6 separate regions of the Homo sapiens genome follow, and regions 1, 2, 3, 5 and 6 are each linked to region 4. Evidence: promoter capture Hi-C in 16 types of primary human blood cells and fetal thymus (Javierre and others, 2016). All regions are on one chromosome and are shown on one strand. The core of a region is centred on a gene start or on the middle of the fragment in contact, and the rest is flanking DNA. Distances in the headings are between cores, read along the strand shown.

What was found. The method cuts DNA at HindIII sites, captures the fragments that hold promoters and counts their contacts. A CHiCAGO score of 5 or more calls a contact.
Region 1: a fragment that was not itself captured here is called in contact with the fragment with the promoter of PCDH9 in region 4 in 1 of 17 cell types (M2 macrophages); the score reaches 7.8 in M2 macrophages.
Region 2: a fragment that was not itself captured here is called in contact with the fragment with the promoter of PCDH9 in region 4 in 3 of 17 cell types (M2 macrophages, M0 macrophages and M1 macrophages); the score reaches 30.4 in M2 macrophages.
Region 3: a fragment that was not itself captured here is called in contact with the fragment with the promoter of PCDH9 in region 4 in 1 of 17 cell types (M2 macrophages); the score reaches 6.2 in M2 macrophages.
Region 5: a fragment that was not itself captured here is called in contact with the fragment with the promoter of PCDH9 in region 4 in 1 of 17 cell types (M2 macrophages); the score reaches 7.7 in M2 macrophages.
Region 6: a contact is called between a fragment that was not itself captured here and the fragment with the promoter of PCDH9 in region 4, in 1 of 17 cell types (activated CD4 T cells). The highest score is 5.4, in activated CD4 T cells.

What each region holds. Positions count from the first base shown.
Region 1 is chr13:62,499,858-62,503,881 of GRCh38, reverse strand. No RefSeq gene overlaps it. Among named protein-coding and RNA genes, the nearest start is that of LINC00459, 180 kb to the right of the region's middle. The HindIII fragment of the contact is 2,164 bases long and covers 1,563-3,726 here.
Region 2 is chr13:63,127,240-63,131,120 of GRCh38, reverse strand. No RefSeq gene overlaps it. Among named protein-coding and RNA genes, the nearest start is that of LINC00376, 200 kb to the left of the region's middle. The HindIII fragment of the contact is 674 bases long and covers 2,075-2,748 here.
Region 3 is chr13:62,518,621-62,522,600 of GRCh38, reverse strand. No RefSeq gene overlaps it. Among named protein-coding and RNA genes, the nearest start is that of LINC00459, 200 kb to the right of the region's middle. The HindIII fragment of the contact is 6,918 bases long and covers 1-3,980 here.
Region 4 is chr13:67,227,573-67,232,024 of GRCh38, reverse strand. PCDH9 (protocadherin 9) reads left to right here and starts at 1,689. Exons shown (of 5, transcript NM_203487.3): 1 at 1,689-2,245; 2 at 3,450-4,452. The coding sequence starts at 3,585. RefSeq lists a silencer at 1,279-1,418. The HindIII fragment of the contact is 4,939 bases long and covers 22-4,452 here.
Region 5 is chr13:63,107,292-63,111,846 of GRCh38, reverse strand. No RefSeq gene overlaps it. Among named protein-coding and RNA genes, the nearest start is that of LINC00376, 220 kb to the left of the region's middle. The HindIII fragment of the contact is 4,587 bases long and covers 1-3,899 here.
Region 6 is chr13:62,305,862-62,309,939 of GRCh38, reverse strand. No RefSeq gene overlaps it. Among named protein-coding and RNA genes, the nearest start is that of LINC01074, 13 kb to the left of the region's middle. The HindIII fragment of the contact is 430 bases long and covers 1,169-1,598 here.

The sequences.
Region 1 (4,024 bases), core at 1,395-3,894, 4.7 Mb after region 4:
AAAGTATGGCTTATTGAAATGGTTTAAAAGTGATGATTTTGGAATCTTAAATCAACCTTCCGACAGGGGTAAAACTTATTTCATTTTGAAATATATTTTAAATATATCCATTGTACTTATGCCCTATAATGGCCATTTAACACTTTTGAATTAATTATTATTATTCTAACGGTTACATATAAATTTTCAAATGTCTACATTAGTTACTGTAAATTAATAATAAGACAAGAGAATAAGACTATTAATGGAACAATGAATTATAATTATAATAAAAAACAATTCAATATAGACAACTTGTTAGCAATTTATTTAAACTGAGCTCTACTTAAACTACCTTAAGAGCAATACATGTTTACTGTATTATAAACATACTTATTCATGCAGAACCGCAAATGTCAAAGGAAAAGGCTAATAGTTTCATAAGCAACCTTAACAGGAACAATATATAATAGATGCCATGAGGCCTGACAGTTCTAATCAAGTTTGTAGGTAACCTTCAAACTGCAAGGACAGATTTAAAAATTAGGATCTCGTGTTCTGCTGGCGATTATAAAATAATCAGCTCATAGTTTACAGAAGTATATGATTTAATACTTGCATCACCTTGAAAGCTGACAAATTATATCACACAAACTGTTTAATTAATAGTTTTGTGGACAATTTTAAAAGTAGAAAAAATGACTTTATTTTACTTTATTAAAATGTAAGAACTAATATAAGTAAAAATATTTATTTATCTTACCATATTAGAAATTGATATGTACTCATTTTATTATAAAAAACATACTTGTACACTTAGTCACCAATGTAAATTCACATTTTGACTACCATCTTCACAAGTTTTAACAACAAAAATAAACTACCTTTCAAAGGAAAAAAATAGTGTTGTATACTATAGACTAGCTACTGTAACGTTAATGGGGAAAGGTTCTGTAGGTTATCATTCAAGGGCCAATTTTCAAACCCTCTGAAGATCACAAAGTGCTCAGTTATAAATAGCATGACTTGAAAACAAATCATTGTCAAACCAAATGTATTTTCTACTATGACAGAATAATGGCCTTGATTCTTTCAATCTACAGTAAGTGTAATCGAGCTTGACCCCAGGAAGTCTTTTAACTCTGTCCCACATGGCATACTCATCTACAAGCCAGCAAAATATGGTTTAGGTCATGCTATTGTTGGCTTGATGTAAAAGTCATCAAAATGTGGTACTCAAAAAGAAGTTATTGATGGTTCACGGTTGACCGGGATGTATGGAATGGAATAAGGGAAGTAGTTGGTTTATGTCTGATCAAATGGTGTTATGCCAGATGGGATTTCTAAGTTTGAAATTATTTCTAATCTTATAAATGATTGGTAAATGACCTTAACTAACTTATCCTATTATATCCAATTGGGAAGGATGACTATGAAGTAGAAATTATCTTGAGATATATATGTACATATATACATTCATTCACTTGTGCATACACACACACAAGTGTGTGTGCATGTATTCAGAAGTAACCTAGACAATGAGGAATATCTAAGAAATGAAAAGATCAAATTATGACAAAGCTTTTAGTGAGGAATTAGTTACCAGCATATCTCACTTAAAACATGACTCTTTATATTTAAGAAAAAAAAAAAACATGGTGACATTTTTACTGTTGAACAAAAATAAAATTTTATTACAAATGATGTGGCAAAATGTTAAGTGAAAATGCTGCAGTGTATAACCATAGGAGGAAATATGAGTCTGTTGTACTTTACTCCATCTTGAAGGAATGGAAAATTATTAAACTCATAGAGAAGAATGAAATGGGCCTTATGGGCCTGGGCTGTAGGTTTCACTTTTAATCTAATACTCTTTTAACAGAGAAGGTGCTTGTACATTGTCTAAAACAACAAAAAATAAAATCAATTAGTGAGTATTTTTATAATCAGTAATATTCATAACAAATATTAATATCATCGCCTGGTTGTACTCATCTCCCCACATATAAGATGTGGCATCTGAATTGAGAGGTTCCTCCTTAGGTATATTTGATCCTGGTGAGACATGAGAAGCTCAGGCAACTGAATGGGAACTTTCAGTTAAGATAGGAAGTAGTAATACCCATAATGTTGCACATGGGACTTAAAGTTCTAAAAATAAATTTGGACCAAAAAAGATACAGAAATGTTGAAAATCGTTACAATTAATATACATTTTCTTTTGGCCACATGAGCAATATTCTGTCATGTTTAGAACTGATGATTGTGTTAGTACAATTGTGAGGAGAAGTATCATGAAATTCAAAGTATTTTTAATACAAGAACAAATGTTTAAGTGTCACAATTTATGCAAAATAGCAGTCATGTATCACAGATAAAATGGCACTTGATTTCAAATTCAAGCACTTAATTCGATCTTTCTTCAAGATTTTTAAATTTTTTTCTTATTTATTTTATTTCCTTCTTTTCTTATTAAAGGAGAAGTTGAGCAAATTGGTATAATTATTCTTTGATGGAAAAGCATCTTCTAAACTATAAAGCAGCACTCCTACCCCAGGGATTAGTCAGTTCCAAATGTTGCTTTTAACAAGGCTGGTAGTTCTGAAAATAATTTATTTTTTCAGCAAGGTGAGCTTTCAGCAGTTTTGCTAATGGTATACTCAAATCTCAAGTGACCAATCTGACATACAACTCCTACTGATCCTCTCTCTTCTGATCTTGCCAAATGTAAAGTTTTGTTCTTAAATCTATATTCCCTTTGGAGTTAATTTCAAACAACTAACTTCAAGTCATGTTTATGCCTTATGTTCTGTTTCACTTGTATAAAATCTTAATCAACTGAAGAATAGTTGGGAAAATACTTAATTACAATTTCAAATATTGACACTCATAATAAACTAAAACTATTAATTTTTATTTCTTCCAGATCTTAAATCTAATTTTCATCTTATGTTCTTAGTTCCCATTGAAGCTATGGCATTATAATTATATGCACACAATTATATTTTTTCATCATGTGCTTTAAAGGGAAGAAAGACTACAAGCATAGACATTGGTGATACTCAAGTTAAGGTCATTCTTTATGTCATACACACACGCACGCGCACATACAAACAGATATACATATAGATACAAACACGTTGAATATCTCTTGTTCAAAATGCTGTGACCAGAAGTGTTTTGGATTCTGGATTTTTTTATTGTTTATATTTATTTTTTAGAGACAGTCTCAATACATTGCCCATGCTGGTCTTGAACCCTCAACTTCAAGTGATCCTCCTGCCTGAGCCTCCCAAAGCTCTGAGCTTACAGGCACAAGCCACTGGACCCAGACCTAGATTCCTGATTTTTAAAAAATATTTGCATATATATAATCAGCTCTCTTGGGGATAGGACCCAAGTCTAAACACAAAATTTATTTATGTCCATATATACCTTATTGACATACTTGAAGGGAAATCTTTGCATTATTATTGATAATTTTGTGCATGAAACCAAATTTTAACTGTGTTTAAACCACAACTCATAACATGATGTCAGGTACGGAATTTTCTACTTGTGGTGTCTTGTGAATGTTCAAAACGTTTTGGATTTTGAAGTATTTCAGATTTCAGATTTTTAGAGTAGAGATGGTTAACCAGTAATATATTTATAGATTATGTGATCACGATGACTTTTTTGGTAAGCCATGATAATTAAGAAATAAGGTAATGATTAAAATAATATAATTGTTTAAAGACAAAAGCTTTTATTCAAAGCCTTATATGCAAAGAACTATGTGTTTTCAACATGTTCTAGAGCATTTGTTATAGAGTTCTGTCTTTAGTAAAGACGATATAAACAAATATCATTTGAAGATCATGCAAACATACTTTAAAAATCATTAGATTGAGAAGAATTTCAAGAAACATGAAAATATTTCATTATTGTCTTTATGAGGCTATCTCTGCCTGGATAACTTTTTAAAAATATTTAATATAATACACATACAACCTAAAATAAATCTTGTCACATAGTTCTTTATCTTTGTTTGAAATTAAAACTA
Region 2 (3,881 bases), core at 1,162-3,661, 4.1 Mb after region 4:
AAAAAGGCTCATAACAGCTTTATTCATAATAGAAAAAAAAACTGGGGTTGAAAGCAAATTTCCATGAAGAGAAGACGGGTGAACATATTATGCTGTATTCATGCAGTGGGGTATTACTCAGCAATCAAGAGAATAAATACTAATACTGAACATTATTATATGCAGCACAAGAAACCAGACACAAAAGAAGACACACTGTGTGATCCCATTAACATGAATTTGAATAACAGGCAACACTTCTCTGTGCTAACTGACTCCTATCTGTATTTGTTTCTGGGAGTTTGGTAGGGAATTAGCAGAAAAGAAGTCCAAGAGTACTCTCAGAGTTGATGGAAATAGTCCATAGGTTGATGAGAGAGTTAGTGATTATGTAGGTGTATATGTCAAAGTATATGTCGAAATTAATCATGCGGTACACCTGAATATATGCATTTTATTGCAAAGAAATTATACATATATTAAAATAAAATTTAGATAAACCAAAGAAGAAGTTTTAGGGGTGGGTAATTTATCAGAGACATTGTTTAGAATTGTGAGCACATGGTTATAATAAGGAGTAGAGCAACTTTTACTTGACTTTATTTTTTGTTTTGTTTTGTTTCAAAATTCTAGTCAATGTACTTTTTTTAAACCTGCTCCTCAGGTAGATCTTCCCCTCTCCACACTTCTGGATACACCACTGCCAACTCCCCACTTCTTTGAATAGTCAATAAAAACTTCACAATATTTCTCATCTCTGGTCTCATAGCCCCACAACAATTTGCCTCTTGTTACTATTTTGGGACACAATAGAGCCAAAGTGAAATGAAATTTACCCCTACCTCTAGGAGTGAGAACTATTCTTGTTTAGGAAAACTGGAGTGATTGCAGCAGCCATTACCATAGTGACAGGCCCAGAATGATTCAATCAGAACAAAGAATAAGATTTGTGTTGTAAAGAGTAGCCTCTATCTGTTTAGGGTAGAGTGGCCTACAGAAATGAGACCCAGAACTCCTCAGCCTTTTGTTACCATTCATCAAGAGAACCAAAGAAACATTGACTCAGACCCTAGTCCCATTTGTGATTATAGCCAGCCATACTTCTACAGCTTCAAAGTAGGTTGTAATAACTCTTTTTATTTCATCTGGGTTATGTTATATTTCTTGTAATTTACTAAACTAGGAGTCATAACTGCTACAAAGAGAAGTAACTCTGCCTTAACTGTATATTTCCAACAGTTTTATAGAATATACTTTAAAATGAATTGATTTAACCTAGGAGGATTTATATTTCATGAACTGAGTATTTTTAAAAGATAAATTTTATTTTCCTTTGAGTTCTGCACACCTTACTGAAATACTACCTTGTGGAAAGGTCATGTGTTTTAAATTTTGTGTCTGGTTCTGAAAAACACCATACCAAAAAACATTAGCTTTAGCTTTTCTTTCTTTCTTTTCTTTTCTTTTTTATTTTAATTAATTAATTTATGTTTTTGAGACAGAGTCTTGCTCTGCAGCCCAGGCTGGAGTGCAGTGGTACAATCTTGTCTCACTGCAACCTCTGCCTCCTGGGTTCAAGCGATTCTCCTGCCTCAGCCCCCTGAGTATCAGGGATTACAGGTGCCCACCATCACGCCCAGCTTATTTTTGTATTTTTAGTAGAAACAGGTTTTCGCAGTGTTGGCCAGGCTGTTCTCGAACTCCTGGCCTCAAGTGATCCTCCTGCCTCAGCCTCCCAAAGTGATGGGACTGCAGGCATAAGCCACCACACCCAGCCACCTTCAGCTTTCCTGCTATTTGAAGTTAATGAAACCTATTTAGCTATCTCTTTCTTACATTTCCATTTATTTAATTTTTATTTTTTTCATCATTTACAGCCAACTGCTCTGTATTTTTTCCTTGACCTGTGAACAACCTGGTGTGAGAATGATATCTTGATTTCACAATTAATTCTACAAGTATTTATTGTGAGGGTAGGTCACAAGCAATAATGATGAGTTTGCCCCTTATTCTACATGTGTTCTTGTCTCTGGACACTTAAACATAATTACAAATTTAACTGGGATATTTGTAGTTTCACCTTCAGCGAAAAGCTTTTGTGAGCTAAGAACTTCTAGCTTGCTGACATTTTCATTAAAAAGAAATGAACAACAACAAAGAAACCCTCTCAGCTTAAATGGAGACACAGTGACTCATCAACAATATTCTACATCAAGAGCCCATTAACATTTTTGGTTTTTGCCCACGGGACCCATTTGCTATTATGACTATGATGTATATTTTACATACTCTGAGAGTCCTAGAAAAATGATACATATCTGTATGTGGCCATGTGACTGTAAATACTGATTGAAACAGAGTTATTCAATAATTTTTTGGATATTTTCCTGATATGTTAACATTTTATAAAGAAAGACACATTTTCTATATTTATCAATATGTTTAATATAGGTACAAGTCCTGAACCTCAATTTGTTTATTTTCTTTATTTAACTCAAAATTAAATAAATTTTTGCGGACCTAAATCTGTAAGTCAATAATTGATTCAATTATTTGGGTACTTTAAGACAAAATCAAAAGTTCACATGGATAGATCTACATTTTTTATATAAAAAATATTAAAATCATATATATGTTCAAGGTAATTTTTGAAATGTTCGGAGGGTAAAATGGGCTAATATTATTAAATTAGAGAGTACGTGTTTTTTCCTTCTATTTTCACTTCTTATTTATACCTGTCACCACAGAGTTTCCATCCTACATTAAGCTTACCAGCTACATAACTACACTTCAGCCCAAAGCTCCATCATTCTAATTTTGTGACTTTCCCTTTCCGTACTTGGGTTACTGTGTACAACTGCAATCTTTGTAAATAAATGGGCACCTACTGCTGGATGTTTATATTTTTACTCAGCTATCTCATTCATTCTGCATAGTGATAATTCAAACCTTCAAAATTTTCGTCAATCATGTTCTTACCAAAATCAAATTATATTCAAAGTTGATTTCACCATTTATTTCTAAAAAATTATTAGATATTTTACTGAAGTTCACCATAGCTTCAAAACACTGGAATGAGCCAACATTATTCTCATGTTCTTTAAAGACTCTATGAAAGACCAATCAATCCAATTCTGTTTCATTCAAATTTCTTAATGCCACCTCACCATCCTCAGTAAGTTGTTTTTCCCCCTTTAAATATAGCATATACATATACATTCCATCTTTACTTGTTTTGTTTTCCTGTAACAGTTTAAATTTGCACATGACTTTCCCATCTTAAGCAAAAACAATATTATCTTCCTTTCAAAATTAAGATTCCTGATAAAATATCCATATTTTAATAATTCATAATCATCTCACTAAAATTTGTTCTACTAGATCTACTATGTTTCTTAAAACAACTTTTGCTAACATTACCAACGTTATTTGCTGCTAGGTTTAACAGAATTTCTTCAGTCCTACTCTTACTTAAAAATCTGGCATTAACCATTAACCAACTTGATCAAATCTGCATTTTTAGTAGACTCTTCCATTAGATATATACGTAATATTTCCTGAGTACTTTGTTTAAAGATGGTTTCTGTGATCTGAATATGTTCTCCAAAACTCATACGTTTAAACTTAATCATCAATGTGAAACAGGTGGGAACCTTTAGAAGGTGATTAAGTCATGAGTACAGAGACTTCATGAATGGGATTAGCATTTATAATGGAAATTCCTGGGAGCTGTCTCTCTCTTTCTTTGTCCCTTCTGCTCACTCTTTCACCATGAGAGGACATAACATCTTTCTCCTTTTTGTACTTTTATCATTTCCACCATGTGAGGACATCTAGACATTGTCGTCTATAAGGAACAGGCTTTTACCAGACACTGAACAGCCTGGTGCCTTGATCTTGGT
Region 3 (3,980 bases), core at 354-2,853, 4.7 Mb after region 4:
TGATATTGTAGAAAAAAAGGTAGCAAAGGCTTTTGAATGTGTATGCTGAGAAAGTAAGAATAAACCTGATTTCTGAAAAGTTAAGACAAACATTGAGCAGACAAAAGGACAAGGAAGAGAGCGTTCAAAAAAAGTTTTGTTAATAAGTTGAGACTCGATGATGGAACTTTGAAACACTTTTTTGAATTGCCTCCTATCCACAGTCCTCTGAGTTTCTTGTTTCCTTCTCTCTACACGTTCTCATATTTCACTGTTTTTTCCTCCTCTGTCAAATATTTATTTCTTTTTTATTCTTCTGTGTTTAGACTTAGACTTCCTTCTATTTTTACTCTACATAGTATTTTTCATATGTGATATAATCTAGTTCTATAATTACATTTTGATATGTAGATAAAATATTCAAGGAAAAAACACTGTGACTAAAATGTTCAGCCTGGGATAATAAGACAATGCAAGCAATTTAATATAGTTTCAAACAAAACTGAATTCCCTTTCATTTTGCATATATATGACATATCTTTCTGTTAAAAAGTTTTGTACATTGTAGCTCTTTCTACATCATTTTCTTCACAATTTTATAAAATGCATCTTTTTTTTGTTTGTTTTTTGAGATGGAGTCTCGCACTGTCGCCCGGGCTGGAATGCAATGAGCAATGGTGCAATCTCGGCTCACTGCAACCTCTGCCTCCTGGGTTCACCCAATTTTCCTGCCTCAGCCACCAGAGTAGCTGGGATTACAGGTGCACACCACCACACTTTGCTAATTTTTTTGTATTTTTAGTAGAGACGGGGTTTCACTATGTTGACCAGACTGGTCTCGAACTCCTGACCTTGTGATCCGCCCTCCTCGACCTCCCAAAGTGATGGGATGACAGGCATGGGCCCCTGTGCCCAGCCACATCTCTTTTCATTTGTACCAATCCCTATCCTCTCTCCCTTGTATTTTGTACATACCTTGCACTTCTTTCAGTAATCCTACCCATATGCTTCACAACCTTCTTGATGTATTCTTTTATTTCCATTCTCGTATTTTCCATCCCAGCCAAAATGCATAACTAGTTGGACAAAGTAGATCACTTTTGTATATGTATGGATGAGGAAGATTTTGCAGTGGGAAAGACATAAAACAACTTAGATTATAGGGAGGAACAAGACTGAGAAAAACAAAAAACAAACAAACAAAAAAAACTTCCAAAATTCTCTGGCCTAAAATTCTCTTTTTCTCTTTTCAGTTTTCTTTTAAAATTTTCTTATGGAAAACTGTGTATCCAACTGTTTCATTCATTTAGCTACTGTGATGGTTAATTTCATGTGTCAATTTGACTGAGCAGTTAGGTACTGGGATATTTCTGCAAACCTTATTTTAAATGTTTCTGTGAGACTTTAACATTTACACTGATAGACAATGTAAAGCAGATTACCCTCCCTATGGGAATGGGCCTTATCCCGTCAGCTGAAGGCCGGTATGAAGTAAGACTGACCCTGCCCTGAATAAGAGAACATTCCTCCTGTCTGAACTGAGACCCTGACTTTTCTTGCCTTGAGACTCAAACTGAAACACTGATTCTTCCCCAGTCTCAAGCCTGCCAGCCCTGGGTTTGAAATTACACAATCAGCAGTCCTGGATCTCCAGCTTGCTGATTATAGATCTTAGGACTTAGCAGCCTCCATAATTGTGTAAGCCAATTCCTCATAATAAATCTCTTGATTTTTGTATATACTTCACTTGATTCTGTTTTTCTGGAGAACCCGGACTAACACAGCTACAGATAACTTCAAATGTAATTTGCCTAAAGATTAACTAATTATCCTTTCTTCAGACTTGCCAATATTTATAGATCAGTAGATGGTATCATGATTCATTCAGTTGTTCATGATATCACCTCCTTCAACACTTCCCTTTCCACCACCTACCCCAATTAGTCTAGATATTCCTCTGATCATCCCTCTTTCAAATTACTTACATGTTTCATCTGATTTATTGTATACACTTTTTAAACTGATTACCTGAATCCATTTTTGCCCCCCTCCAACCAGGCTCCACACAGCAGAGAAGTTCCTTACAAAAGAAAACTGACAATTTTACTCTCTTGCTTAAATTCCTTCAATTGTGTTTCACTATTTTGGAATGAATTTGGAAGCCCTTATTACCTACAAAGTCTTGCATAATCTATCATCTCCCTGCCACACTAGTCTCACTTCATGACATTCTGTCATTCCTGCTTTATTTTCCAGCCACATGCATCTTGTCATCTTCTGCCTCTTCACCTTTATGCATGCTCTTTACATAAACAAAGCTATTATTTTTTAAAGATTGTTTATGACCTGAGTAAAGATAAAGAAATAAAAACGTTTGAGGCTACTGCCTAAAATTATCTTTTTCTCTTGTGTTTTTACTTCTTAATTCAATCATCTTTTTCTGAGGTCCCAGTTTAAAAAGTATCTTCCTGAGGAAGCCTCCAAGGATGCTCAGATGGTTTGTTTCCTTCTTATGTATTTCCACAGCAGCTTGCCATTTTCTTTCTCAGCATTTTGTTTAGGGATGATGATTGAGGAGCAATTCTCCAGAGTTTCTATACATCTTCATAACAACTTTATCGTAGACTATCTTTTCAGGATGTGTGCAAAGCAAACAGCCTTGGAAGATGAATAGGCTCTTCCACTGAAAGAGAGGGCAGACAGTTTTTCTTACCAATGTAATTTAGATAATATCCCTCTCCTTGCTAAGGTGGGACAGGTTGCCAGATACCCCTTATATAAAATTGTGGCCTCTTCAACATAATGAACCTAGAAAACATTATGTTAAGAGAAACAAGCTAGTCATAAAAAGACGTGTATTTTATGATTTTTACTTACATGAAATGCCAAATACTGTAAAATCTGTAGAGACAAAAAGTAGATTGGTGGTTGCCTAGGGTTGTGGGAAGAGAGTTGGTTAATGGGGAGTACTTACTGAAGGGTATAAGGTTTATGTAGAGGGTGATAAAAATGTTCTAAAATTGATTGTGATGGTGATTACATAAAGCTGTAACATATAAAAAAAACTAACTGTTCACTTTAAATAGATCAATTGTTTGAAACATAAATTATATTTTAAATAGAGCTGTTTTTTAAAAAAATGTGTTTATGATTTGAATAAAGATAAATAAATAAAAATGTCCTGGACTTCATAATCTCCAGGTTCCTCAGGTATACAGCAAACCCACTGTTTGTGTAGCATCTAATTGGGACCATATTTGCATAAACCCTATGAGATGTGGGTGTGATTGAGTAGGGAGAACTGCTGTGAACAGGATGCTCATGTTGCCTGCTGTGCTGTAAATAATAGTAATTTTTCCTTTACCCAGAAGTCTCACACCTTCTACCAGGATTCAGGAAACTCTGACAGGGGAAATTACTAGGTCAAAAGTACAGTAAAATCTCAGACCCTTCATGGTTTCTGACAGCCATCGTGTACTTAATTTTTGTGTGTATTCTTTAATATCTCTTTTCTGTGGCATAAACTTCTCTGTCCTTTTTCTCACACAGTGTGTAACAAAGAGCAGGCAATTAATAAACATTTATTGACTGACTGAATAACAACAATGTTGAAGTAAGGAAGAAAAGTCGGGAAAAAGCTGATAGGTAGGTGTGCCAAATGACTCAGAAAGTAATCTAATTTTTCTTTATTGAAAGCATTATTAAATATTAATGCCCTTTCTTCAGTTGGGTGCGGTGGTTTACACCTGTAATTCCAACACCTTGGGAGGGTGAGACAAGTAGACTGCTTGACCCCAGGAGTTCAAGACCAGCCTGGGCAACATGACGAAACCCCATACCAAAAAAAAAAGAAAATACAAAAATGAGTTGATGTGGTGCTGTGCACCTGTGGTCCTAGCTGTTTGGGAGGCTGAGGCAGGAGGATTGCTTGAGCACAAGACATGGAGGTTGCAGTGACCATTGATGACACCACTGCACTCCAGCCTGGGCAACAGAGTGAG
Region 4 (4,452 bases), core at 440-2,939:
CAATATATGGCTTAGTAAGCTTGATTGGTGTTTTTTTTTTTTTTTACTTTTCATTTAAACGTCTAAAAACAAATGTTACTTAAAAAAGAAAAAAAGCAAACAAAACTATTGTACTCAAAAACAAGGGGTAATCTCCAACACGCCCTCAGTCAAGAGCTTAAGTATGTCAAGAGCCTTTAATGCCTAGGCAGCCCATTATAGAATGGGGAACACACAGGTTTAAAATAAATGCCCTTTATTCTTCCTGTAAGTTAGACCAAGTTATTCAATCATGTACTAAGACCTTCTCTGACAACCTTTATAGGTCATTCAGAAAATAAATTTTTGTTCCAAGTGAACTGTTCCTATGTTAATGCTTCAAACTTTACTCAGGTATCAGGCGTTAAGTACAAGCCATTACACAAACCTTTGTGGTTTACTGACTTTGAAAGATCAATCAAATATATTACTAGATAGTGCTTTGGGGGTCAGTATTTGAGAAATAAAGCTGTATTTTTTGGGGAGTCATTCCATCCAGTTCCCGTATGAAAACGAGAAACTTGTGAGGATTTAGTACAGAGCTGGAGTCGGAGAAATGAAATGCACGGGAAAAGACGAAAATCACAGGAAAGAAAGTTGGAATCAGCAGAAAGTGCCTAGGGGAAAGGAAGTGTTCCACAGCTTGGGAAACAGCTGCCTGGGACTCCTTCCAGCCCCTCGGAAGCAAAGTTCGCAGTGAGGTGGGCTGGAAGCGGGTTTTGCAGCAGCCGCGAGTCCGGGCTCAGGTTTCCAGGCGCGGCTGGAGCAGAAGTGCAGGGACCGCCACGATCCACCGCCGCGGCCGGTCCCGCTCCGCTAGAGGAGACTTCGCACGCGCAGCCGACTGGCCCGGGCTGACCGAGGGGACCCAGACGCTGCCACTTTCTCTTTCCAAGGCAGTTTCCGTGGCTCTGCATGTAGGAAGTGCTCCGATTAATTTTCTTTCCGGTCTCCGCAGAGATTCCAAATTCTGCGGTCCCCACCTTTCGCTGTACTCCCTCTCCGCCCTTCTTTCCAATGTCCCTGCCAGCAAAAGCCTCTATTTGCAGCACCGGGCATGTTGTCCGTTTAACGCGCTCCGGGGATCTGCTGGCTCGTGCTCCCAACCCAGGGGTGGCTATACGTCTCGCGCCTCTGTTCCTGGGTAGACTCCCCCATCTGTGCATTTTGGCCCCTTCACTTAGCAAAGAGATGTGCGAAGTGTGCGCCTGGAGACGAGCCGCCTCGGTGACCCCCATCCGCCCGCAGCGGTGGCCCTGGTTCCCCGGATCCGCGCCCGCGCCCTGCGGGTCTCCCGCGCCGCCCTTGCCCGCCGGACCACCCGGGCTCAGAGGGTCGCTCGCTTTCAGCGCCTGCGAGCGCCGCTTCCGCCCGGGCCTGGGGAGCGCCAGCGCGTCCCTCCCACGCCGGACCCTGCAGAGCATGCTCAGTGCACCTCATGGAACCCGGCTCTCCTGGGGCCAGGATCAGATTTCCGGGTTTTCGCTGCTGCCGAGGGGGCGCGGAGGAGGGGAGGCTGGGAGACAGTCAGCGCCTTGTTCCGCGCTCCCTCCCTCGCGCCGGGCTGCGGCCGCCCGCGCCGCAAGATGCAGGCCAATCAGAGCCCGGGGGCGGGGCCTGGGCAGTCACGCCCTCCCTCTGGGCTTATTGAGAGTTATATCAAGAAATTCAGTTCAGAGAGAGGAGAGGGAGAAGGAGAGAGGGGCAGAGGGGAAGGGAGAGAGGGAGAGCACGCGAGACGGAAAGGAGCGCCTCAGAGTCTCTGAAGCACGCAAGAGATAACCGATTAGGAATTTTTCGGGCAACTGTCACCCGGATAGCTGTCAGAGAATCATCATCACCGCAACTCTGACGTTTCCTACAAGAAGTTAGAGACTTAAGCAGTATTGGCATCGGATGGAAATGGTATGCATGCTGCTGTGGAAAATATCCCTGAGCTGAAGAAGTGCAACTATGTGTTGTGTGTGCTAAATGCCCAGAAGAACCCAGACCCAGTGGGTAAGAGAGACGAAATGTGGAGAGAATGACTAACGACAAATCCGTGAATTTGTTCTCTGGAGTTGCTAATTTGCCAGCCCGAAGCAACACATTTTACAAGGAGGAAACATTTTGCTGCTTCTGATTTCTCCCCAAACTGGTGCTACCAGATGCATGGCTTTCTATGTGTTGGAACAAATCATTCCTAACTGCAGCATACTGGGAAAGGGGAAAGGTTGAGGCAACTAACGTAAGTGTAAAGTTTCGCATGCACAATTGTAAATTCTGTGTTTAGATGTGTCCTCAGTGTAGGCGAAAGATGCTTGTAATTGGGTAGACGGTTGGGGCAGAGCTCACCTACTCGGCTGTATCTGCATCCCTACCTGCATCACTCTGCCGGAACTAATCGCGGGCATCAGCTACTGTGCAGCCTAATGCAGATAAGATTAGAGCCTGAGAACTGACCAGTCCTACTCAAGTAGGTAGCTGCCTGGAGCCTTGCACCCATTTAAACTGCAGTTATCTAAGCAGAAGCCTTTTTACCTGCATGATTGGGTTGCAGTATTTATGTGTGGCAAATGTTACTAATATTCTAACCAGAGATCAGGATTAAGAAATTGCATTTTTTTTCTCTTTTATGTTCAGTAGAAAATATTGTGATGTTACATGGGAATGTTAGCTGCGTTTCACTTATATCTCGGCACTCTCTTCCACCTCTAGGAAAATGAATCCTATATTATTATACATTTTTAAAAGTTTTAATGTGTTTATGAATCCTAATGAGGATAATTTGTCAATATGGAGAAAGGAGAGCAAGCTGTGGGCAAGAAATCTGAAGTCTTGTTGTTGTGCTTTTAGGCAATGAGGATGTGTAGAGGCCGGTGACTATTGCTTCTGATGCCGCTGCAGCGGCATGTCCGGATGCTCGTTTCCCAGTAAGATTGTATTAGAAGGCAGTTGAAGAACTGGGAGGAAAGAAAAAGATAGCCTTTTTAGAAAAGATAGGTGACTCAGTGGGGCAGAGAAGAAAACACATTTGACATGTGACAAAGCAATTAGCAGGAACCGTAGCTAAATACTTAGTGTTTTTCACTTGCACCTGAAAAGACTGAGGGAGGTAGGTTAGAGGCTAGGAGGAGGGTGAGACAGGGGGAGGGGAAGAGGAGAACAAGAATGCATGTTTTGAATTAAACAGTATTCTGAAAAACAACGTGCGTGAATATAGGTAAAAATAGCAGCTGTCCTTAATTCAAAAGTAGAAAATTTTATTTTCTCCCGGCAAATGCAACCAGCAGGAGATATTTAGTGTTTTTCTCCACAGAGTAAACTTGCAAACAGTGGCAGAGCAAACTGCCATGTTTACTAATGTTCAGGGGAAAATGTGTGGTGATATTTTGTGACGGTGTGTTTTTATTTACTGAAGAATAATATTGTCTATACAATTGTGTTGACAGCGGCTGTCTCCAAATAAGTGATGAGATATAATGCATCCTCCAGTCCATGCACGCTTCCTCTTGCAATTTGTGCATCATTCCTCAGTGGAAACCTTTAAACCCTAAAATCCAGGAAAAGAAAATAAATACATTATCATGGACCTGAGGGATTTTTACCTGTTGGCTGCTCTGATTGCCTGTTTAAGGCTGGATTCCGCAATAGCTCAAGAACTTATTTACACTATTAGAGAGGAATTGCCTGAAAATGTGCCCATAGGAAACATACCAAAGGATCTGAACATTTCTCACATCAATGCTGCCACAGGGACCAGCGCCAGCCTTGTCTACAGACTGGTTTCTAAAGCTGGGGATGCCCCTTTGGTGAAAGTTTCCAGCAGCACTGGGGAAATTTTCACAACCTCCAACAGAATAGACAGAGAAAAACTCTGTGCTGGCGCCTCATATGCTGAGGAGAATGAGTGTTTCTTTGAACTTGAGGTGGTGATCCTCCCCAATGATTTCTTCAGGCTGATCAAAATAAAAATAATTGTCAAGGATACCAATGATAATGCCCCCATGTTTCCATCTCCTGTCATCAATATTTCCATTCCAGAAAACACTTTGATCAACAGCCGCTTTCCAATTCCATCAGCAACAGATCCTGACACAGGCTTCAATGGTGTACAGCATTATGAATTGTTAAATGGGCAGAGTGTTTTTGGACTGGATATCGTGGAAACTCCAGAGGGAGAGAAGTGGCCACAACTGATTGTTCAGCAAAACTTGGATAGAGAACAGAAAGATACCTATGTGATGAAAATCAAAGTAGAGGATGGAGGCACTCCACAGAAATCCAGTACGGCCATACTGCAGGTCACAGTAAGTGATGTAAATGACAACAGGCCAGTGTTTAAAGAGGGTCAAGTGGAGGTGCATATTCCAGAGAATGCTCCCGTAGGTACCTCTGTAATTCAGCTCCATGCCACTGATGCAGATATAGGCAGTAATGCTGAAATCCGGTACA
Region 5 (4,555 bases), core at 357-2,856, 4.1 Mb after region 4:
ATAGATTTTGTATTATGATTTCCACTTTTAAGATAAACTAAGCATAATTAAAACAGAAGTTAATAACTGAAAATGTCATGGTAAATTACTAAATGTTATTTAGTAATAATTACTAAACCTAAAATGTGGAATTTTGGGCCAGCATAAGATAAGGGCACTAAGAATCAGCAAACTTCAGGTTTTGGAAAATTACAATATTAGTATTATCTTTTGGGACTTTGACCATGTTTTGATCCCTTGTTATTTTGACCTCATGCCCATCAACATTGGATATTTAGGGAATTCAAAATATGAGAACATTAATATTCTCACTTTTTAAACTTACTGTAAGAAAAACAAGAGAGTTTACAATATCAACAAAGACATGCAGTTTTATAAACATGTCTATATTCACCTATTCTAGATGGCCAAGCATTTATGTTTATATTATATATATATATATATATATATACACACACACACACTAAACTTAGTAAGAAATATATATATGATATATATTTATATATATGATTTCCACTTATATATAAATATATATTATATATATAAAGATGATATATATTTATATATGATATATATTTCCTACTAAGAACTAAGTAAAAAATTATATATAATATATATATATAATTATATATATAATATATAATTTTTTTTTTACTAAATTACCCCCAGTTGAAATTCAGGGTATATGTTAAAAATTAAATATGTTATACAAATCAGAATGAAAATATTGTAACATTTAAGAACTATAGACAGGCTTTCCCATCTCCAATTACTCTGCATACTTGCCCAATAAGAATTTGTCCTCAAATGAGACACAACATGGAAGAAAACGGCAACTTCCCAGGCAGGTGAGCCATGCCAGCACTCTGGCCTTTAGTTACTTCTTGGAAGTCATTGCCAAGGTCTACAGGACTAGCCTCTGCCTTGGGATAGCTAAATAGATCTATTCTACCTAGTGGTTCAGATGTGAGAGCCTTTACATGCAGAGATTTTAGTTTTATAGATAATGACTAAACAGGCTATTTAGCACAGGCCTTCTACCAAAAAATTTCATGAGGTAAAAATCTCTTGTAGTGTGATTACAGAAAAACCTCAACTATGTCAAAAGGATGTCTAATCTTCAACATTCTAGAAAACCTCTAGTTCAAGGAGATTTGGACTGTGAAATACACGATAATTTCTAAAATAAATACATTTTACATTCCAGGAGAAGGCCTGAAAGATCCTAGATAATTATTCCTCCTGATAGAAAGCAGATGAGTTGGACAGATTGGGTAAACAATGAAACCTGTGTCAGTCTTCCCTTTGACTCTGTATCATTTGCTGCTAATTAAGGACTAGTATCCTACAACTACAGTACCCTGACCACTAGCCACAGGGCAAATATATCATCCAAGCCAAACAAACCAAAATTTCCCCTAAGATTTGAAATAAAAGAAATAAACACAGTCCTCTTTTTGGTAGTGAAGCTAAGGGTTGATAATGGGAAGGTACAATTAGCCATAAAAAATAATTAATAAAGACAAGATAAAAAAACTGAGGCAATAAATGGAATGAGAGCTGATTGACTCAATTCTCTGTTTCTAGTTGCTCTTCCCTTTTTGACTCTCAATTTGAGACATTTTTAATATCTATTTTTCACTATTCACAGCAATATTTAAAATAATAATGGAAATTAATGAGACAATAAAAGAAAGAAAATGAAAAATTGCCCATAGGAAAAACAGGTGAGGATTTAAGTAAGGGTTCCCACATACCAAACTATGTTTAATTTATGTTAAACTGGTCAAATTGATGGTGATAGTATTTCTTTTTCACCAAACATTTTTTATTTTATTATACTGGCAAGTTCATTTCTCCTGTAGAATACATTTCTCAATATGTATTACTTGTTCAATTACATATCTAATTTATTTGTCCATCTCAACTCACAACCTTAAAATAGCTCAGTTTGTCTATGAAAAAATAAGCTAAAGGCAAGTAAATATCCACACTCAGTTTTTGACTGTCAATAATTCACTCTGATCCTCTTGGCTCTAAACTCTCTTTCTGACAAGTCATATTTATACTGAATAATTTTTGGCAAATGAAAAAATAAGTTATTAAACATAATCTAGGATAATTCACTTTAAAATAGATTGCTCTATCCCTAAACAGGTTAAACATTTCTCCCTCTTCCTCTCCTTTTTCACAATTTGTTGACATATTTGCAACATAATTATTTTTGAATTCTTCACTTAGCCAGTAGTCTCTTCCTTTTATGGGAATTATAATTGGAGTACTTTAGGGCTATCACATGCATATATGGTACTCACAGAAGCCAAGATTGTCATGATGACTTTTATTAGTATGTCATGTTTATGGATAATAAAACTGAGGTCCAGGGAATTCAATGGCAAGAAAATAAACAAGACATTTGGACTCCCTCCCTCCCTCCCTCCCTTCCTCCCTTCCTCCCTTCCTCCCTTCCTTTGACAAAATATCACTCTGTCGCCCAGTGGGGCGATCTCGGCTCACTGCAAGCTCCGCCTCGCGGGTTCACGCCATTCTCCTGCCTCAGCCTCCCGAGTAGCTGGGACTACAGGCGCCCGCCACCACGTGCAGCTAATTTTTTGTATTTTTAGTAGAGACGGGGTTTCACCGTATTAGCCAGGATGGTCTCGATCTCCTGACCTCGTGATCCGCCCGCCTCGGCCTTCCAAAGTGCTGGGATTACAGGCGTGAGCCACCGCGCCCGGCCTGGACTACTTTATTTCTTGTGTTCCTTCCATTATATTAAATGCTAGTAGAAAAGGTGGGAGCAATTCAGAAAAACAAATGCTTGTCATTAAAAATATGTACAGTATAAAATGTAGGTCCACACACCAATATACCACAGTTATGTAGTATCACTATTCTAAATACAACTGCAAACATTTTGAATTACATTCAACTTTTTTATGTATTACAGATTAGAATAGTTTCATTGCTTTACATACATATTCCATTTTGACAATGCCTATATCACCTTATGTGTTGTCTAACCTGTTTAGACAGTGTAGAAAAATACTCTTTGTTCCACATCATAACCAGATTTATCTTCAGTCAACAAATTCTACATTACTGAGAAAAGTCTATACAAAATTCTGTCTATAAAAACTGTATTATTCATGTATGTGACAGTGATATAAATATAAAAGTTTTAGCCACCAGAAAATTCAGAAAATAAAAAAATGAATAGACTCATAAAGCCATAATCTAAATGCAATCTAATAACTGATCTAAGACACTTAGCTATAAAATGTAAATATATTGTGAAACAAAACACACATACTGGCACATTCTGGAATTTAAAGAAATCATATGTCTTTAGTAGGTGAACATAAAGCTAAAACTCAAGTATTATTTATTAATTGTTTTAAAAGAACTAAAAATATTTTCCAAGTAGTGTTTAGTATAAGAGTGCATATATATTTCTGTTTTTTAAGGAATATTTTTTTCTATGAAGTTTGCAAAGAAAAAACGAATTGGTGTTGGAACTCGAATTTATCGTAAAAAATTTAATTGTCAAAAGTGAAATAATATGCTCCAAAATAATAGTAACAAACTACCTAAGTAGTATGTCATAGCAAAGTTCTTTTCATAGAATCATTATTTTTTCTGTACAAATTTTGTTATTAAAACACACAGAACCCACTAAAGTTTTTTTTCCCTATTATTGTCTGAATTATATAAAACAATCAAGAAATCTAAATAAAGCAACCTTAATTTTAATAACCTAAACATGTAGGTGACTTAGATATTTTCTTATAAGGAAATCATAGCTGAAAGTGGTATTCAGGAGATTATATTGGTAAAAAATAGGTAAAAGTTGATGAAGTCATTAAATTTTCAAAAGTTATAAATTATCCTGTAAAGCTTCACTGGCTGCAAATTAGCCTGTGCTGTAGCCCTCTGCTAACAATCTATAGATCATTTTATTATTCATGAATTTTAGTAATTTCAGGACACCACAGGTCATCTTATGCTCATTTATTTGCTAAACACCTTGTGCTAGCATGCCTATGCTGAAAAATTGCTACTATTTACTCCCTGTGAGACAAGCAAGCCACAAAGTGCCGATTTTGGCCCAGACATCCAGTATGTGAGGCTGCACATACATCTTGCTGTCAGTGAAATAAATGAGCCCTTAAATTGGCTGCAAAGCTTTAAGAACTGAAATTTATATGTCTAGTTTTCAAACAGAAAGTTCAGAACACCTGCCAATATGACACGTAATTGTGACAAACTGTTACATTTTACCTTTAACTTTTCAGTTTTAATACCACAGCTTCATTATTAAAAAAATTCTGCAAAATACCCCAAGTCTGTAAAACAAAATAATTGTGGCTCTACAGTGTGTATGTGCATGTGTGCATGTATGTGTGTGTACAGTGGCCTTAGCATTTAAACATTGAGTCATCCATCAGCCGATGAATAACACGCCACAGACAACCGGAGCCTCAGAATTTACTTTGAGCAGAAAGTCAAGTCCCAGCAGATTTGCCAACTTCAGGGAGCATTACAGCTTCTTCAC
Region 6 (4,078 bases), core at 134-2,633, 4.9 Mb after region 4:
CACACAAATGTTTATCTCAGTAACTGTTTCCAGAATCCCTGACATAGTAGAATAATGCTGTGAGAATAAAACAGGAAAACATAATATCTAAAGTTTCTAAAGTCAAACTATATATTTTCAAATCCCAGTTCCTTTCATGTTACATAAAATTGGTCTAGTTATTTCATCTTTCTTTTATCATTTTCTCTAGTAAAAAATAAAGGTAAAAATAAATTTTCATTAAAGAAAATAGATAATTATAAAAAACAGAGCAACTGCAAAAAAGCAAAAAATTAACTAGTTTTTATTATAATAATATTGTTTCATGGAACTCACATCTAAAACCACATTGGATGGGGGAAAGAGCCATTTTCAAAAAAAGAATGAAGAAATTCAAAAATGTGTGCAGTAATCTTGCCCATGTTTTTCTACATTACATGCCTGCGTTTTTATAAAATTCATATTATATAAATGTACGAATATATGTATATGTATAATCAAATTCTAGATTTTTCTTATAATAGCTTAATCGCATTTCTAATGTGTGAAACTAATGTGAAAAATACAGTGAAAAAATTGTGTAATATATATCATAATGTATACATTCATTAAAAGGTGTTAGTGAATGTATTACATTGTTTGATGATACATCCACCCCTTCATCTCTTTAAAACATGATTCATGTGTCTTTTAGAAAGAATAATAATATGATAAAGAAATTTACTAAGAATATGCGCATCTAAAATTTAATAGAGCCATGTTAATGTTAAATAAGCTTTAAAAGGCCGGGCGTGGTGGCTCACGCCTGTAATCCCAGCACTTTGGGAGTCCGAGGCGGGCGGATCACAAGCTCAGGAGTTTGAGACCAGCCTGGCCAACATGGTGAAACCCCATCTCTACTAAAAAAATACAAAAATTAGCTGGGCATGGTGGCATGTGCCTGTAATCCCAGCTACTCGGGAGGCTGAGGAGGGAGAATTGCTTGAACCCAGGAGGCAGAGGTTGCAATGGGCCGAGATTGCTCCACTGCACTCCAGCCTGGGCAATAGGGCAAGACTCAGTCTCAATAAATAAATACATAAATAAATAAATAAGCTTTAAAAGAAAATAAAGCAAGGGAGCTTTCCAAAGTGAGTTATGGAAGATCAAATTATTTACTAAATAAATAATAAAAATGGAGGCACAAGCTTATAAAACCAAATAGCATGAGTCATCCTATTCATTTGCTAACTTGATATGTGTGATGATATATTTGGGAGACATTATAAAAAGTAGTGTGCCCCAGCAAATTTTCCCCAACTCATGAGAGTGGATTGTGTGTATCTCTTTCCAACTCTGCATCGTATTTTTACTCTAGGGAGTTCTTTTCACTTTATGTTAGGGCAAACTTCACAAAAGAGCAAAATTCTTAAGAGGTCAGGACTACCCAAAATGGTACCTTGTCAATAAAATTTCTCAGGGCGAAGTACACCACATACAGAGTCAGCATGTCAAACTACCCTATCAGAATATATTTTAGGAATTTTTTTTGTTTACTCCTCTAATATTAAATTCACTATAGTCATATGCTTTGCTATACACTAGATATAAAAACCTAGGGTCTCTTTCCTCAAGAAGCTTATAGTCTAGTCATAAAATAGAGATTAAATACATAAATAAATCAATATGAAACTAGAAATTTAGAAAATTTATATTAAGATCATGAAAATGTGCCATAGTAGAAAATAACTAAGGCAAATCTAATTAGAAAAGATGTTTGGAGACAACCTCTCTGAGATGATATTTAAACTGAGATTTGGAGGATAAAATGAAGCAGGCCTTGTGAAGATCCACAGAAAATGCACCCCTGGCAGATGGACAAGCATGAAAGGGCACTAAGTAGGACTGTCCTTGGCTTGTTTTAGGAACTCTGAGCAGGCCATTTGGGCTGCAGCAAAGTCTGTAACTCGAATGCTTATTAGAGCCAGTCAAGTTAGGTACATGAGTTAAATAGAACAATGTCAGTGTCTTTAGTTGTATTTTTTTCAACCATATACACTTCATTTGCATATTAATGGAATCTTAATTGTATTATTCCCACAGGGACACTCTGTGATTGCATATAAAACACATAGGAATATGTTTTACTATCAGAAAGAAATATGCTCTGTCCTAATTTTTGTGATACACACTGGTCCTTTGGGTCTATCTTTTGTTTTCTCCTTCAACTTGGCAATACCAAAAACAGCAGGGCAAGCTCAATGATAAATGTCAAATGACAGTGGATCTCAGTATTAAGGTAACAAGATGGTGACATGTCTCTGGTGAATTGAGAATGCACATTTCATATAAAGATTAGAGTCTCTACCCAACTCAAGTGATGGAAAGAAGGTCCAGGTTAGGTTGAAATTATGATTTTTAAAGAAGAACTTAGATCTAAATATTTACACATAATCTCCACATTTTTCAATATTGGCAAATAGTTTTGCAAAAAACAAACACACAGGGATTACTATCAAGACTATATAATACTCCTTTCCATTGTCAAGAACTGTGGAGGGCCTAAGATTTTACCCTACTTGCAATCTAACAAGTTATTCTTCAACAGTTTCATCAATTCTGGAAAAAGATGTGAGATTCCTGTGTCAGAGAAAATGGACAGTTTATTACTCACATAACAGTGGTGGCCAGGTTATCAGCATTTGTGTTGGTTCTTCCAGTCTCATTCCCCACTGACCAAGGCAGAGCCAGCTGACACCTGCATATGTGTGGATTGCATTATAGAAAAGGAAGAACCTATTATTTTAGAATAATTTTATAATTATTTTTATGATGGCAAAACACATCTGCCATTTTGGTCTAGGTATAGATGTCATCTTTGTCTTCCAAGGCTTTAAGCAGACCCTTAGCTCTGAAGGGATACTAACTCTGTCTTCCAAAGTTACTCACTATATAAACTTATACTTAAGAAAATTAACTAGAATGGACAGTTGTTGTCTCTGTTTGCAAGATGTCTGGAAACATAAGAGACATTGAAAATTGTCTCTCAACATCTATAGGCCTCAAAATATCCACTTCTGCACTAAAGCATAATGAGTGAGAAAGGAGACTCAATTAAAATAATGTTTCTTGAGATAGGCAAGAGCCAGATTGTAAAAGAGCTTATACACAAAAGCCCCTTTATATTAAGTTTAATGGAAATCCATCGTTGAACATTGAGAAGAATAACATGAGCCACTTTACATTTTCAAAAGCTCATTAAGGTAGTCAGATGGGGAATGGACTTTGCTGGACCAGACTGATAGAGGTGAACCACTTAGGAAAGGCAACTAAAGATGTCTAGACATGATATCAGTGATGTCAGAGCAGACGAAGGAAACCAGATTGATAATATCATCTTATGATAACACTAGAGATTGAATCTATATTCTTGACTGACAAATAGGGAGCAAAATGGAAAGAAATTAATTAAGGGAGTCTCACAGTTTATTTGAGAGGGGAAGCAAGTGATGGAATATGGGGAAAAACAACAGTTAAATTTTTGTTATATTTCAGATATTTACTAAATATTTATAGACAGAATCAAATCAGGTATTTAAATATATAATTTGGAGACTCAGATAAGTGTTTTATATCATACATACTATGTTGGAAGCAGTTGTCAAATAGATGGCATTTAAATGATGGGTATGAATGGAACCACATATGGATGGCATAATAAAAAATATAAACAACCAAAAGATGGATTTTTGAAGAAAACTAAATTTTTAGAAGCTTTTTGGGGATTTAGAAGTGAAAGAGAGAGCTTTTTTTCTTCCTTCTCTTTCTTTCTTTCTTTCTTTTTTTTTTTAACGAGTTCTTGCTCTGTCACCCAGGCTGAAATGCAGTGGTGTGATCATTGTTCGCTGCAACCTCAAACTCCTGGGCTCAAGTGAATGGTTCATTTGAGAAGAAGATGTAAATAATGCTTTAGAAATAAGTGCAGTGCAAGTCATTTAAATGTGATCCATAGCATCTGTGGAGAAACAGTCTTTGACTGAGGGTGAAACACGAAACACTTTCACTTTCACAGAAGAAGAGAAAATAAAAATAGACTCAGAGGCAAATCTGTTGAGCATTT